2 separate regions of the Homo sapiens genome follow, and region 2 is linked to region 1. Evidence: promoter capture Hi-C in human tissues and cell types (Jung and others, 2019). All regions are on one chromosome and are shown on one strand. Each heading gives the region's core, a stretch centred on a gene start or on the middle of the fragment in contact. The rest is flanking DNA. Distances are from core to core; before and after follow the strand shown. Region 1 holds the start of POU3F3 (POU class 3 homeobox 3). Region 2 holds the start of LOC124907862 (a long non-coding RNA gene).

The links. The method cuts DNA at HindIII sites, captures the fragments that hold promoters and counts their contacts. A contact is called where the count stands out against the background at its distance.
Region 2: a contact is called between a fragment that was not itself captured here and the fragment with the promoter of POU3F3 in region 1, in 1 of the 25 tissues and cell types used here (IMR-90 fibroblasts).

Annotation. Positions count from the first base shown.
Region 1 is chr2:104,852,239-104,855,612 of GRCh38, forward strand. POU3F3 (POU class 3 homeobox 3) reads left to right here and starts at 1,877. Exons shown (of 1, transcript NM_006236.3): 1 at 1,877-3,374. The coding sequence starts at 3,273. It also overlaps a transcript of PANTR1 not described here. RefSeq lists a silencer at 223-272 and an enhancer at 1,481-2,070. The HindIII fragment of the contact is 12,067 bases long and covers 1-3,374 here.
Region 2 is chr2:103,012,506-103,015,879 of GRCh38, forward strand. It overlaps LOC124907862 (a long non-coding RNA gene), which reads left to right and starts at 1,071. Exons shown (of 2, transcript XR_007087164.1): 1 at 1,071-1,393. The HindIII fragment of the contact is 5,284 bases long and covers 1-3,374 here.

The sequences.
Region 1 (3,374 bases), core at 627-3,126:
AAACCTACCTACGATGGTATCTCACCCGGCAAGCAGGAGCTGGACAAGAGCCTACATAAATTCTACGCGTCTAGTGTTAATCTTGAGATCACGCGGGGGCTGCCTGGCTGCGGCTGGGCAGGAGAACTCCTGCTTTCACTGAGTTCACTTAACTGCGCTCGGCAGAGGCACGATACAGCGGGAGAGAAGGGCAGGCCCGTTCACATTTTAATCGGAGCGCACCGGCGGCCGCTCCTCGGCTGCGTCCTGGGCTGCCGCTCGGGCTCGGGACTGCCAGATGCAGGCTCTGGCTGGGGGCGGCGGGCGCAAGCGGGCGCACCCGCAGCTAGGGGTGCGGGGTGCACGCACACGCACGCTCATTAAGAGCCATGTATTTATTGAATGTCCGAGTTGGGTTAGTTCATTGGAAATCCCCGAGGAGGGCTCAATTTGCCCTTGTTTTCGTTGCCACTTTCTCTTTTTTCTTGGTTCGCTGAGGTTCCTCTGTGCAGCGTTTCCGCTTGGCCGCGTCCCCCCACCCCACCCCACCCCACCCCCGCTTCTCTCGCCTACCGGGTGCACTCCCCCTCCCATCCCCCTTAACTCTTTCAGCTGGGTTAGAGCTGAGAAAGCATTTGTCGCCGCCAGCCCCATCCACCACGCAAATCCATCTGAGACAGAAAGGAAAGAAAAAAAAGCACCACCATGCCTAAGAATAGAGAGCGAGCAAACCCCCCCACCGCTAATCACACACACACACACACACACACACACACACACACACGAGGAAGCGGTGGAGCAGAGAAGGGCGCGGCTAGCCGATCCCGGTTCTTTCGCCCGGCTCCTGCTGCCACAGGGAATTCCTAAAGCCATTGGGGTCGAATACACTTACGATGAATCTATGGGGGAAGGTCGGACTGATTGCTTTTCAAATACATCGCACGGCTCCGCTGACCGGCACCCTCCAAACTCACAAGGGCACGCACGCTACTTGCACGAATCCCAGAGGAGGGAGGAGGGAGGAAGGGAGGGAGAGCGAAGGAGGGAGAGAGGGGGTGGAGGAGCCAGGGAGCGGCGGCAGCGAGCGGTCCGTCTCGCACGCGCGGGCACCGCGCTGGTCCTGGGCTGCAGGTTTCCCAGATGATGGCATCCGAGAACTTAAACAAAGGGGGCTGCCGCCGGCGCGCAACGGCTGCGGAAAGTTGCGGTGGCGGATTTCCAAGGAGCGTGGCCACGACCAGAGCTCTTGGCGATGCGAGCCCCCGCTTCCCACCCCCGCCGATCAGAGAAGGGGGCCGGCTGGTGAAGGGAAGAGGAAACTTTGAAACCACTGGGGACACATCTGTCTATAGGTATTAGCTTGAATGGTACATCCGTGCCGCGCGCTTTACAAATCTCTGGCGGGGCGGGGGTAAGGGGGTGAGCAACCCGACGCGTACTAGGTGGGGTGGGCAGGTTGCTATTTTTCATGTTTCCCCCTTCGTTTTCCTTCTGATTCTCTTCCCCCCTCTCGTCCCTCCCTCCCTTTTATCTCCCCTTTCTTCCCCCCGCCCAGACCTATTGCGAACGCCCAGAGCCGCCGAGGGAACGCCAACGTCTGGGCCGGACACTAAGAGTTAAGATGTGGCGGAGGGGGCGGCGGGGGAGGGGCGGGGAGGGGAAAGTGGTGAGGGGGAGGGAGGCTGGAGGACGACAGATTTCCAGCTTCTACGACGCTCTGCCTAAATTAAAAAGCAACCAATCGGAACGGCCGGAAGGGGGGCCTCGCGTCCTGAGCCAGTCATTCCGAGCCTGCCAATCACCCAGCGGGTAGCCAATCAGCGGGGGCCCTGGTGCTCGACTTCCTTGTATTTGGGAAAGTGTGGTGGTGGGTGCGCGCTCGCGGCGGAGGGTAAACATTCGACAGTCCCCGCTCTGAGAGGGAGGGACAGAGAGCGAACTGTCAGATCGGAGCGAGAGCGGGCGCCCGAGAGAGGGAGAGAGAGAGAGGGAGGGAGAGGAAAAGTGAGAGAGGGAAAGAGAGCGCGAACGAGGGCGCAGAGCGAGCTCCTGCTGCAACTCTGCTCCAGCACGGCCAGCGCCAGCGCCCGCCGTCGGTGCACTCTACGAGCCGTGCAGCGTGCCCACTGGAGTTGTTGTGTATCAAGGATCGATCCCCTATATGCACACACACACCTCCACCTCCACCAATGCACTCTTCTTCCTCCTCCTTCTCCAGACAACTGCTGGGAAAAAAATAAAACACCAACCCCAACCGTCAGCAACAAGGTAACAGAGCGATTCGACATCATTTTTTTTCCTGTTCAATTTTTTCCTTGTTATATTTGTTTCCTAATTTCTGCCCAAAAGGAAAGATGTCGCATCAGACTGTGACTGTTGCGAGGAGAATGAAAAAGGACTCTTGTTTCAGAGGCAACCAAGAGCTCCGGCAATAGCAACTTCAGAGAAATGCACCATCGCAAGAAGTTTTCCTAGGACAGAACAAAACTTGAAACGAGAGGACCAGAGGGGGAGAGCAGGAGCCAGCCTCCCCTCTCCGCACTCGCGAGCAGCCAGCAGCACCACGCCTTCAAGGACGAAAAAGTTTTACTACTCTAAGGGAAAACGAGTGAAATGTGTTCCTGAGGAGGAGAGGAGAGGAGAGGAGAGAGCGGACAAGAGAAGGAGCGGGCCGGTTGCTGGTCATCCGTAATTTGGCTAAGGAAGAAAGGAGCAGCTTCTTTCTTTGTTATCTCCCGTGAAACCTTCACTTAGCAGGTGGACGGAGCCCCGCGACCGGGCAGAGTCCGGGCTCGCCCGAGGACAGGAGGAGGAGCGGGAGCCCGCGCGTCCCGGGAGAGCGCCCCGAGTGCAGGTCCCCGCCCCGCCCGGCGAGCCCCGCTGGAGCGAGCCCAGCGCGCCGGGGCTGGGGGGCGGCCACGACCCCCCCTGAAGGGGGTGGCCACGGAGCGCACCCCGAGAAGCGAGCCCCCCTCCCCAGAGCGCTGCTCCTGCGGCTGCTGCTGCTGCTGGTGACCAAGGCCGGCCGGCGACCCCCGCGCCCTGCCGAGCGGCCTTGCAGCTGCAGCCGGGGGCCGCGGCGGCGGCGGCGGCGGCGGGGGCGGAGGCGGCGGCGGAGGAGGAGGCGGCGAAGGCGGCGGGGCCGGCGGGGGCCCGGGGCGGGGGCGGGGAAGGAGGGGGGGAGGAGGCGGGAGGCGGGGGGCGCGGCGGCGGCGGCGGCGGCGGCGGCCGCGGCTGCTGCTGCGGCGGCGGCGGCGGTGGTGGCGGCGGTGGGGTGGCGGGAGCGGAGCGGCATGGCCACGGCGGCTTCTAACCCCTACCTGCCGGGGAACAGCCTGCTCGCGGCCGGCTCTATTGTGCACTCGGACGCGGCAGGGGCTGGCGGCGGCGGGGGT
Region 2 (3,374 bases), core at 580-3,079, 1.8 Mb before region 1:
GGAGCTGTTTTCATGTAGTTTGAGAATAAAACCATATTACCCTAACAGAGTCCAGTAATTGTGAATTCTTGGTATGCTGCTATCAGAAAACATCTGACAGTGACACTGACTATTTATGCAAGAACTACCTGAATGCAGTTTAGTATTTAATCCAAGCCCCACCATTCCTAGCACAATTCTACTGGAACTTTACGCAGAGGATGGCAGATGATGAAATTTCTAAAGGAATCAACTGCTGGACAGTTACTAAATTAATTTTTAGGAAGCTGAATCACTCTGAACTTATTAGGTTAACTGACCATCAGCAGTGACTCCAGGAAATGAATTACACATATTGGGCTGCTACCCAGGCTGCAGCTTCTGATAAATTATTAATGTCACAGAATTGAGATGATTAAATTATAAATAGCATTGTTTTACATACACGTAATTTGAAATATTTGTCCCTTTTCTTAATATTTTCCTCTGAAGTTACCATGTTCGTTGTTTATAGTAGTAAGGGTGGTACAGCATTAACCAAATTATTAAAACATTAAATAAGTAATTGTGTCTTATTGAGATGTATGACAAATGAATGCAACCAAGCAGTGGAGTTTCTGCCTCTTCCATTTAATTAGAGTTGCCTTTTAGGAATTTAACATTTCATTATATATAAATGAGTACATTTACACATTGTCACTGCCATCTAGGATTTAGTTTTCAAAAACATATTGTTACTGTCCATGGCCTTTTACAATAATGGTGCAATACTGACTACATTGAAGAAAACTGATGTTTTACTAGAAAAAGGATGTAGTTTATGTAGTAGTTATATTAATCATTCTATTTTCTTAGTATAAAAAGCACTTTGCATATTTCAAAACTGCAGATTAAAATGTGGTCTGAAATACGCATATCGTCATTTGAAAGGAAATACAATCTCAAGTTTTAAGTTACATTTTTATTCCAATTGCCTTCAATAAATGTGGCCTCATTATTTGTTTTACTTGTAAAGGTAAATATGGATGTTTTAAAATGAATTTTTTTGTTCTGTTATCTTTGGATAAAGAGGCTTACACTGATTTCAACCAAACAATTCCTCATTGTGAAATAATAATTCTGTCATCAACATGCAGACAGCTTAGTGGTTACACAGCAGCTAGCTATCCTATCCCACCTGCAGGTATCCTTGTCAATGCAACTTTGATTTGTCAGGCAGCTGGTTGAGATCCCTTGAAGTCAAGATGAGCCAGGTCTGGGAGGATTCCTGATGATATCACTTTGTTACCCAAATTTCCTTCCCCGTGGCCAGTGACTGGGTAACAAGTGAGCATGGGACAGTGCGGATGATTTGAACTCAAGACGAGATCCACTAGAAGCATGAAGGAACAAATGGTGGTGTGCCAGGAGACAGGTGGGAGGAAGGTTCCCTTCCTGATAAAAAGACAAAATGTCTCCACACAAAACCACTTTGTCTTCCTGTCTGTCTCCTTCTTTTGTTGTTGAGCATGTATGCACTGCTGGGCATGCAGCTTGCCCTGTTCTGTGGGCTCCCAGTGGCATCAGGAGGCTGACAAACTTGTGCCAGCACCTACATTCCACTGGGCTCATCAAGGCGAGAACTAAGCTCCTGGCTGTTTAGCCTGCTCTTCTTTTCTTGTTACTTGCACCCAATGTAGCCTAACTACTACAATCAGTAGGAGATAATACGATACAGAAATGGAGCTAGATGGCATCTGCAATTAACTCCTGCAATGTTGCTGTAGTTTTTAAAAAATTGACTGCTTTGAAGGATAATATTTTTCTAGATATTCTCTTCTATTCTAAAAAATGTGTCATTCTGGGTGGACACAGTTCCTCATGCTTGTAATCCCAGCACTTTGGGATGCCAAAGGGGGAAGATTACTTAAAGCCAGGAGTTTGAGACCAGCCTGGGCAATATAGTGAGGCCTTCTCTCTACTAAAAAGTTAAAAAGAAAATTAGCTGGGTGTGGCGGTGCATGCCTCTAGTCCTATCTACTTAGGAGGCTGAGCAGAGAGATTTACTTGAGCCCAGGAGTTTAAGGTTGCAGTGAGCCATGATCGCGCCACTCTGTTCCAGCCTGGGTGACAGAGTGAGACCCTTTCAAAAAAGGAAAAGTGTCATTCTGAAATTTGAGTTGCTACCTCCTGTGTTAATTCCAATTTAACTTATTAGGGGAAAATGCTTTATTGCTTTATTTGTCAAAGAAAGCAGAACCACAATGACACAATGATTAAAATGCCTTTGAGGAACAGAACCACTTGTGCCAGACTTTTGCCACCTAGATGTCTTTTTCTTTGAACCCAGATGTTTGGATATTCCCCCAAATCTTCATAACTACTGGGGTAATCCTGTCCCTTAAGCATTAAATAATAATTCTAGAATATTTATCCCACAAATAGTAGAAATAATATTCCTCTTGGACTGAGGGTGGTGATGTTACATTTAGCGCAGTTACCTCTGGTCTGATCTCTGCCTTCTGCCTTTTGTTCCTATTTCCTTCTCTTCTGCCATTATTTTTCCCAGACATAAAACACCCTCTTTTCTGTTATTACATTTATTCTTTCAACATATACTTTTCAACTTCCAACCGTGTTGAGAAAGATTAATGCTGTGGAGATCAAATGGAACATTGTATGCAAAGTCTCTGGCACGAAGTGTGCCCATGAATACCTTGCTTTCCCTTTCATGACACAATCCTGATTAGGGGCAGAAACCTTGATGTGATAGATCCGAATTTTAATCCCTGTTCCACTGTTTACTACCTGTTAGACCCTCAACTGATTTGTTTTGTCTTTATGAACCTTAATAAAATGGGATCTATCATAATACCTAACACAATAGTTGAAAGGACCAAGTGAGATACTGCAGTAAGATATTTGGCAGATCCATTCTTAATTATTATTGTGGTTTGGATGTTTGTTTTGTTTTGTTTTTCTCCAGTCTCCCTTTGTCATGTGGGTGCTTGGTACCACTCTATACTTTCTTCTCATCCATCCGCTTAGGGATGTCAAAATAGCAGCTAAAATGCAAACTTAACGCAGAATCTATGTAATCCACAGGATGTATATGATTTGTTTTATTAAAGCAAAACTGTTCTAGGTATCAACGATTTCATTTTATTTTGTTTTGTTTTGTTTTGACATGTGGACTAAACACTGCTTTTGATGTTCTTAGTGCTTTTAGGGGCTAGCCTGATAAGGGTTTTGTGTTTGATCTAGGAGCTATCATTTTTTCTGAATCTCATACATGTTTGCACAGAGAGAAATGTTTATACTCTTTATTAGTCCTCTCTTAAGATGCCAGAATTCAATAGGATACAGCAACATGTATTTCTTTTTAAAAAAACTGGAAGGTTTGATGGACTTCAATA